Regions from separate parts of the Homo sapiens genome. Here regions 1 and 3 are each linked to region 2. Evidence: promoter capture Hi-C in 16 types of primary human blood cells and fetal thymus (Javierre and others, 2016). All regions are on one chromosome and are shown on one strand. Each heading gives the region's core, a stretch centred on a gene start or on the middle of the fragment in contact. The rest is flanking DNA. Distances are from core to core; before and after follow the strand shown.

Evidence for each region. The method cuts DNA at HindIII sites, captures the fragments that hold promoters and counts their contacts. A CHiCAGO score of 5 or more calls a contact.
Region 1: a contact is called between the fragment with the promoter of RLN3 here and the fragment with the promoter of NANOS3 in region 2, in 16 of 17 cell types (total CD8 T cells, naive CD4 T cells, M0 macrophages and 13 more). The highest score is 16.0, in total CD8 T cells.
Region 3: the fragment with the promoter of PALM3 here is called in contact with the fragment with the promoter of NANOS3 in region 2 in 17 of 17 cell types (total CD8 T cells, naive CD4 T cells, activated CD4 T cells and 14 more); the score reaches 14.6 in total CD8 T cells.

Annotation. Positions count from the first base shown.
Region 1 is chr19:14,026,778-14,029,477 of GRCh38, reverse strand. RLN3 (relaxin 3) reads right to left here and starts at 1,330. Exons shown (of 2, transcript NM_080864.4): 1 at 1,084-1,330. The coding sequence starts at 1,273. RefSeq lists an enhancer at 504-553. The HindIII fragment of the contact is 35,410 bases long and covers 1-2,700 here.
Region 2 is chr19:13,875,724-13,878,423 of GRCh38, reverse strand. NANOS3 (nanos C2HC-type zinc finger 3) reads right to left here and starts at 1,290. Exons shown (of 2, transcript NM_001098622.3): 1 at 659-1,290. The coding sequence starts at 1,175. The HindIII fragment of the contact is 10,444 bases long and covers 1-2,700 here.
Region 3 is chr19:14,060,647-14,063,346 of GRCh38, reverse strand. PALM3 (paralemmin 3) reads left to right here and starts at 1,271. Exons shown (of 7, transcript NM_001145028.2): 1 at 1,271-1,407. The coding sequence starts at 1,367. RefSeq lists an enhancer at 776-1,330. The HindIII fragment of the contact is 17,434 bases long and covers 1-2,700 here.

The DNA.
Region 1 (2,700 bases), core at 81-2,580, 150 kb before region 2:
GGGAGGCTGGAGGCACGAGAATCGCTTGAACCCAGGTGATGGAGGTTACAGTGAGCCAAGATTGCACCACTGCACTCCAGCCTGGGCAACAGAATGAGATTCTGTCTCAAAAAAAAAAAAAATAGTAGCACATGAACACACAACTATTACATTGTAGAGCTACTATCTGAATCCAAGTGGTGTGTCTTCTATGTCCACGCTCATACCTATCCTCCTTCTCACCATCATGAATATCTATTTGCCAGGTCCCTGCCCCTCATGAAGCTAGGTCTTCTGTTCCCTCTGACTCTCCTGATGGATCCCAGATTGTGCCGCTGCCCTGCTGAGACTCTGCCCTAATCTGTTTTGATTTAATCATACCACTTAATCCTGCAAGATTCAGGAACTGTGTCTCCCATTTGAAGATAAAGACACTCAGAGACTCTAATCTCAGCACTTAGGGAGGCCGAGGTGGGAGGATCACTTGAGCCCAGGAGTTCGAGACCAGCCTAGGCAACATAGTGAGACCCCTGTTTCTACAAAAAAAAAATTTAAAACTAGCCAGGCATGGTGTCAGGTGCCTGTGGTCTCAACTACTCTGGAGGCGGAGGCAGGAGAATCACTTGAGCCTGGGAGGTCGAGGCTGCAATGAGCAGTGATTGGGCCACTGCATTCAAGCCTGGGCAATGGAGTGAGACCACATCTCCAAAAAAAAGACACTCAGAGACGGAAGAAAAACCAACTTGCTGGGGAGAGGTCATGCATTAGGTGACAAACCCAGCTATGTGTATACCACACCCTTCACATTACCTGCTGGAAAGGGTTGGAAAACACTTCGGTGTTGTCTTTGCAAATGGCACGCTCCCCGCCCCCACCTGTCCTCAGACTTCCAGCCCCCATGGATGGCTTGCAACACCCCATCCCAGCTCTGCAGCTCTGCTAACTCCTGAGCCCTTGTTTCAAGGCTGGGCAGGTGTCCCTGGCTGAATGTGGCAGGACAGGGACCCTCCTCCTCCAGCAACCTCCTCTTATCTCTGTCCTTAGCTCCTGGGACCCATCCAGCCACCTGTTCCCCTTCTACATCCACTCTCTCCCCAGCCTCACCCATAGCCTCGTGGGCCAGGATGTCTGATCGTCTCCACCGGGAGCCCCCGCAGGTGAAGATGACTGCTCGGATGAATTCTCGGCCGCAAAGCCTGACCCCGTAAGGCGCTGCCCGGGCCTCAGCTCCCGGCCACAGCTCCCCGGTCAGCACCCATACCGCCAGGAGCAGCAGCAGCATGTACCTGGCCATGCTGGACGGAGATGCTTTGAACGTGAGAGTGGGCCAGTGTCTCTGCTGCCTCTTGGCCCCCCATTTATACATCGTGGCTCCCCCACACTCTGCCTGAAGAAAGCTGAGTGCCTCCCTTATCTTCTCCAGCAGAGGGGAGACAGGCACGGCCCCCCCAACCCGACCTTTCTCATGTCCCCAGCGAAGTGATAACCTTTCGCTAGGGACAGGGTGATGTGGCCCAGCTTATTGTCAACATCATTGACAGAGAGGCGAGAAGGTCTCCAACCTGCAGAGACCAGAAACGCATAATCCCAAAAGGCGGGGTAAGGTGACACAACCAGATCCCCACAACGTTAGGGTCCTGGACCTCTTCGAAGATCATAATAGCAGTGAACGCCCAGTGCAGTATGTGCTACGAGGCCAGGCACACTACTGTAAGCATTTTATTGTTTATTTGTTTGTTTGTTTGTTTAGATGGAGTCTCGCTCTGTCACCCAGGCTAGAGGTACAGTCCCAATGGCACAATCTTGGCTCACTGCAACCTCCGCCTCCCAGATTCAAGAAATTCTCCCGCCTCAGCCTCCCAAGTAGTTGGGATTACAGGCGCCCACCACCACACCTGGCTAATTTTTGTATTTTCAGTAGAGACGGGGTTTTACCACGTTGGCCAGGCTGGTCTCGAACTCCTGGCCTCAGGTGATCCGCCTGTCTCAGCCTCCCAAAGTGCTGGGATTACAGATATGAGCCACAGCCCTCAGCTGCTCAAAGCATTTTATATCTCTGTAATGTATTTGATTCTCCCAACAACCCAGGGTAATGGTTCTCAAATGTGAGTGAGCTTCAGAATCTTTGGGTAGGCTTGTTAAAACAGAAATCAGGCCAGGCGCGGTGGCTCACGCCTGTAATCCCAGCACTTTGGGAGGCCATGGCAGGAGGATTACCTGAGGTCCGGAGTTCGAGACCAGCCTGGCCAACATGGTGAAACCCCGCCTCTACTAAAAATACAAAAAATTAGCCGGGTGTGGTGGCTCATGTCTGTAGCCCCAGCTCCTTGGGAGGCTGAGGCAGGAGAATTGCTTGAACCTGGGAGGTGGAGGTTGCAGTGAGCTGAGATGGCGCCACTGCACTTCAGCCTGGGCAACAGAGTGAGACTCTGTCTCAAAAACAAACAAACAAAACACATATCTTTGTGTCCTACCTGCAGAGCTCCTGACTCAACAGGTATGGAACATATCTAAGAATCTGCATTTCCAACCAGTTCCCAGGTGACATTGATCCTGCTGGTTCAGAAACCAGACTTTTTTTTTTTTCTTTTTTTCAGAGACAGGGTCTGGCTATGTTGCCCAGGCTGGATTGTAGTGGTGGCAACATAGCTCACTGCAGCCTTGAATTCCCGGGTTCAAATGATCCTCCCACCTCAGCCTCCTAAGTAGCTGGGACTACAG
Region 2 (2,700 bases), core at 41-2,540:
CTACTAAAAATACAAAAATTAGCTGGCCATGGTGGCAGGCGCCTGTAATCTCAGCTTCTCAGGAGGCTGAGGCAGAAGAATCGCTTGAACCCGGAAGGCAGAGGTTGCAGTGAGCCAAGATCATGCCACTGCACTCCAGCCTGGGTGACAGAAAGAGACTCTGTCTCAAGATAAATAAATAAATACATAAACAAACTGGCTCGGTGCGGTGCTCACGCCTGTAATCTCAGCAGTTTGGGAGGCCGAGGTGGGCGGATCACGAGATCAGGAGTTTTGAGACCAGCCTGGCCAACATGGTGAAACCCCATCTCTACTAAAAATACAAAATTTAGCCGGGCATGGTGGCAATTAGCCGGGTGTGGTGGCGCGCGCCTATAATCCCAGCTACCCAGGAAGCTGGGGCAGGAGAATCGCTTGAATCCAGGAGGTGGAGGTTGCAGTGAGCCGAGATGGCGCCACTGCACTCCAGCCTGAGCAACAGAAAGAGACCTGTCTCAAGATAAATAAATAAATACGTAAATAAAATCAACTGCTGTTCTAAGCTCTCTCTAAGGTCTTCCCCTAACCCTTGGAGGTGGGTACTGGGGCTAATCTTACTTCACAGGGGGGCTCAGCCACTACCCTCGGACAGGTCCCCCCCAGCCACCTGTGCAGGCACCTGCTCCTCCTCCTCCTCCTCGGCGGTGGCCTGTGTCCTGTGTCTTCGCCTTGTCAGGCCGGACCAGCTTCTTGCCTGCCGAGTTTCGGGTGGTGTGGCTGTAGACGGAGGTGTAGCCCTGGCCAGTAAGTGGGCAGAAGCGTCGGGTGTGGGCGCGCTCACGTGTGGCGCCGCACTGGGGACACACGTAGTCCCGCAGGATGGGACACAGCACCCTGCCAGCCTCGTCCTTCAGCACGTGGGACTGGTAGATGGCCCGGGACTCGCCGTTGTGTTTGCAGAAAGAGCACAGGCGTTCGGGAGCTGGCGAGGACTCCAGGCTGCGCTTCTGATCCTTGGGTCCCGGCACTGGCACCGACTCCGGCGCTGGCATCGGCTCCAGGGCTGACACCGGCTCCAGCATTGGCTCTGGCTCTGGCTGGGGGCTCAGCCTGGTTTCAGGACCCTCTTTCCCACTCAGAGCCCTAACCAGGTGTGCCAAACCCAGGTAATCTGTCCACAGGTCAAAGGTCCCCATAGCTGGGCAGCATGTGCCAGGCGGAAGGAGTCACAGAGACAAGTAACCCTGCCTGGCTTAAGCTCCCTCCTTCTGACCCCTCTCTGCTGCCCCTTCCTTCCCCTCTCTGGAGCCTGGGAGTCTGTGCTGGCCGACCCTCCTTTTACCTCCAAGGGGGTGTGAAGAGGGAGGAGCAGGCTGTGGGAGGTTCCTTATTGTCACAGGGGGGCCTGGTGCCCCACTAATACTCCTCCTAAAGGGCTGTATGGCCTCTGGCTGTGCCGGGGGACTACAGGACACAGGGTGTGTGGGGGGGCATCCTGCGAGGTGCACCACAGCCCCCCGTACACACCTCCAGGGAATTGGGGGGCTACCCTGCCTCCCCTCCTTGTAGGAGTCCTTAGCCCTCCAGCCCCACTGGAGGATGGGGAGAATGGGTTGGAAACCCCACCCCCAAAGACTAGCAGTTACCAGTAACTTAAAGAAGTTAACTTAGTAACTTCTTTATAACTTTTTCTTCCTTCCCCTGGGCGGGGGAGTGGCCAGGTGCCCCTGGGTTCTTTGTGTGTGTGTGTGTCCAGGCGGGAGGTTGCTGATGCTCCAGCTGTCTCTGAAAGGAGTGTGGTAGTCCCAGGCTCATGGGCTGGTTGCGGGGGTAGGGGGGAAGGATCATGCCCCCCGGCCCCCAGCTCTGGTCTCCCTCCAAGAGTTTTCACATCGGTTGTCTTAGTGGAACCCCCATTGAATGGATGAGCAAACTGAGGTGTGAAGCCACCTGCCCATCCAGTTATTTATAAAGACATGCACCAGGCCAGGGAGTGGTGGCTCATGCCTGTCATCCCAACAGTTTGGGAGGCCAAGACAGGCGGATCACCTGAGGTCAAGAGTTCGAGACCAGCCTGGCTAACATGGTGAAACCCTGTCTCTACTAAAAATACACACACACACACACACACACACAAAATTAGCTGGGCATGGTGGCGGGTGCCTGTGATCCCAGCTACTCAGGAGGCTGAGGCAGAAGAATTGCTTGAACCCAGGAGGCAGAGGTTGCGGTGAGCCAAGATCAAGCCACTGCACTCCAGCCTGGGAAACAGAGTAAGACTCTGTCTCAAAACAACAACAACAAAAAGCACCACATCTGCCTCCTTCTTCTAGTTACTGGGGCCCCCTGAGGCTAGGTGCTGGGGAGGGAGCCCTTTCCTGGCGGGGGCTGCAGAGGGGTGAGAAAGAACCCTCTGGAGTTGGGAGGTGGGGGATAGCAAGTTGGGCTGTTAGGAGGGGACCCCTAGTACCTACAGGTCTTCAGTGTCCTCCCCGAGATGAGATCTCAGCTCAGTCCCAGGAGGGGAGGGTGTGCTCAGGACTTGGACACAGAGGAGAGACGCTGTGCCGCTTACACAGCTCATCCACCCATCCATTCATTTAAGAAACTTTTATTGGCCAGGCACTGTGGCTCATTTTGAGAGGCCGAGGAGGATTGCTTGAACCTAGGAGTTGGAGACCAGCCTGGGCAACGTTTTGAGACCCTGTTCCTACAAAAACA
Region 3 (2,700 bases), core at 22-2,521, 180 kb before region 2:
TAGTGATCACTTCCTTTTGGGTTGATGAAAATATTCTGAACCAGTGGTGAGGATTGCATAATATTGTGAACATACTAAATGCCACTAATGGTAAATTTTGTTATGTGTATTTTACCACGATCAAAAAGTAATTTTTTTTTTTCAGACGGAGTCTTGCTCCGTCACCCAGGCTGGAGTGCAGTGGCATGATCTCAGCTCCCTGCAATCTCCGCCTCCTGGGTACAAGCAATTCTCCTGCCTCAACCTCCCGAGTAGCTAGGACTACAGGTGTGCCACCACACCTGGCTAATGTGTATCTTTAGCAGAGGCAGGCTTTCTCCATGTTGGCCAGGCTGGTCTCAAACTCCTGACCTCGTGATCCGCCCACCTCGGCCTCCCAAAGTGCTGGGATTACAGGCGTGAGCCACCGTGCCTGGCTCAAAAAGTAATTTTTTTTTTTTTAGACAGAGTTTTGCTCTTGTTGCCCAGGCTGGAGTGCAATGGTGCGATCTTGGCTAACTGCAACCTCTGCCACCTGGGTTCAAGTGATTCTTCTGCCTCAGCCTCCCAAGTAGCGGAGGTTACAGGCATGCACCACCATGCCCGGCTAAGTTTTTTTTTGTATTTAGCAGAGACGGGGTTTCACCATGTTGGTCAGACCAGTCTCGAACTCCGCCCTCAGGTGATCCACCCACCTGGGCCTCCCAAAGTGCTAGGATTACACATATGCACCACTGTGCCTGTTCTTAAAAAATAATTTTAAAAAATGTTATCTGCCAGATGTGGTGGCTCATGCCTGTAATCCCAGCACTTTGAGAAGCCGAGGAGGGAGGATTGTTTGCGCCCCGGAGTCTGAAACTGCAGTGAGCTATGATCGCACTACTACATTTTAGCCTGGGCAACAGAGTGAGACCCCCATCTCTAAAAAAATAAAACAGTCTCCAGCCTGTGTGCTATGCAATGGTGCTCTCCTGTGGGTGAGTCTTGGCAGGCAGTCAGACTCAAGATGATTGGGGTGCCAAGTAGAAATGCCATTCTCTGGTGGCAGGGGGAGTCACCGACTCAGTACTCTCACCCCCACGCTTGACCACGCGTGTGTGAAAGTGTTTTCCGGGAGGCAGCTGAGTGCAACAAAGAGGCCAGAGGCTGGTGAATAATTTATCAGGACAGCTGATAGTACCTCCCCAGAACTGCCCTCCAGCCCCCAGCCCCCCTCTCTGGTGTGCCTACCGCCTCCCTGGCCCAAACCCGCTGGACCTGCTCTCCCGGTGCCCGCCCGCAGCCCCCCCCCACTCCAGGCAGCCAAGTCACAGCCTCCGGGGCACCTTCAGGCAAGCGGGTGGTGGGTCCAGAACTCGGAGACCAGAAAGTGAACTTCTGGGCAGAGATGGCCCTGCAGAGCCAGGTGTGGTCTCTGGCCACACCCATGTAAGTGTCTGGGGGGTCAGGGGGGCTGGTGGGCAGGGCCTTGGGAGGGGCTCATGGGGGATGCTGGCCTTGTCTGGGAGCCGAGAGCTCCAGTGGTCTCTCCTAAGGGGACCCGGGGAGTGGAGGGGTTGGCTAGCCAACCCCATAGGCTCATCAGTGTCACCCTTCCTTAAAGAGTCAAGGGGTGGGAGAGAGATATAGGCTCCCCCTGCCCCTTCCTCTTCGGGGATTTTCCGCTGCCAGGGCTGAGAACCCAAAGTCCAGCCAGGGGGTGGGGCTACTGCTGTGGTGCAGGGAGTGGGGAAGGTCAGGGTCACTGGGTTCCACGTTTTGCCCCTAAAGTCAGTGTCCAAGGTGGGAGAAAAGGCTTGAGATCCAACAGAAGTTAAAAGCTCCCAGCCTGAGAAAGACAATGGCAACATTGCAAGGATGACCTCCTTCATGAAATGGCCACCAACTCTTGCGGGTGGCCAGAAGCCCAGGCCGCCTACGTTGTTCTTCCAGAGTTAGTTAGAGATAAGCAAGATGGAATGGGGTGTGTGAAGTCTTTTCATAGCTGAGGGGTGAGAGTTTTTTAAGGTTAAAAGGGTAGAGGGGGCTTCAGAGGTTTGGAAAGAGTTTTGGAAAAGGGGCTTCCCCCCACACTAGGGACCCCAATTCGGTTCCTCACCCTTCTAGGTCCTCCATTGCATTATTCACCAACTACAAACCTGGTTGCTTAGCAATGGGAACCCGATCCCCCCCAGCAAGGAAGAGGCAGGGAGATTACATCTTGGGGGTGGTACAGGAGACCACGGGACTTCAGCCCTCCCCCAGGGGCAAACCTATAAGCACAGAATCTGGGCTTCCTTTGGGATATCTTGCAAAGCATGACTTCGTGGCCGGGCACGGTGGCTCACGCCTGTAATCCCAGCACTTTGGGAGGCCGAGGCGGGCAGATCACCTGAGGTCAGGAGTTCGAGACCAGCCTGGCCAGTATGGTGAAACCCCATCTGTACTAAAAATACAAAAATTAGCCGGGCTTGGTGGTGCACGCCTGTAATCTCAGCTACTCAGGAGGCTGAGGCAGGAGAATCACTTGAACCCAGGAAGCGGGGGTTGCAGTGAGCTGAGATTGAGCCATTGCACTCCAGCCTGGGTGACAGAGCGAGACTCCGACTCAAAAAAAGAAAGAGCATGACTTCAATTCCTTGCCCCAAACAGCATTCAGGGTCTCCAGGCTGCTCTCTTAGCTACCTTGATGGGGATTCCTAGACCTGCACCCCCACCCCCCTCGCCAGCTGTGTTCTCAGT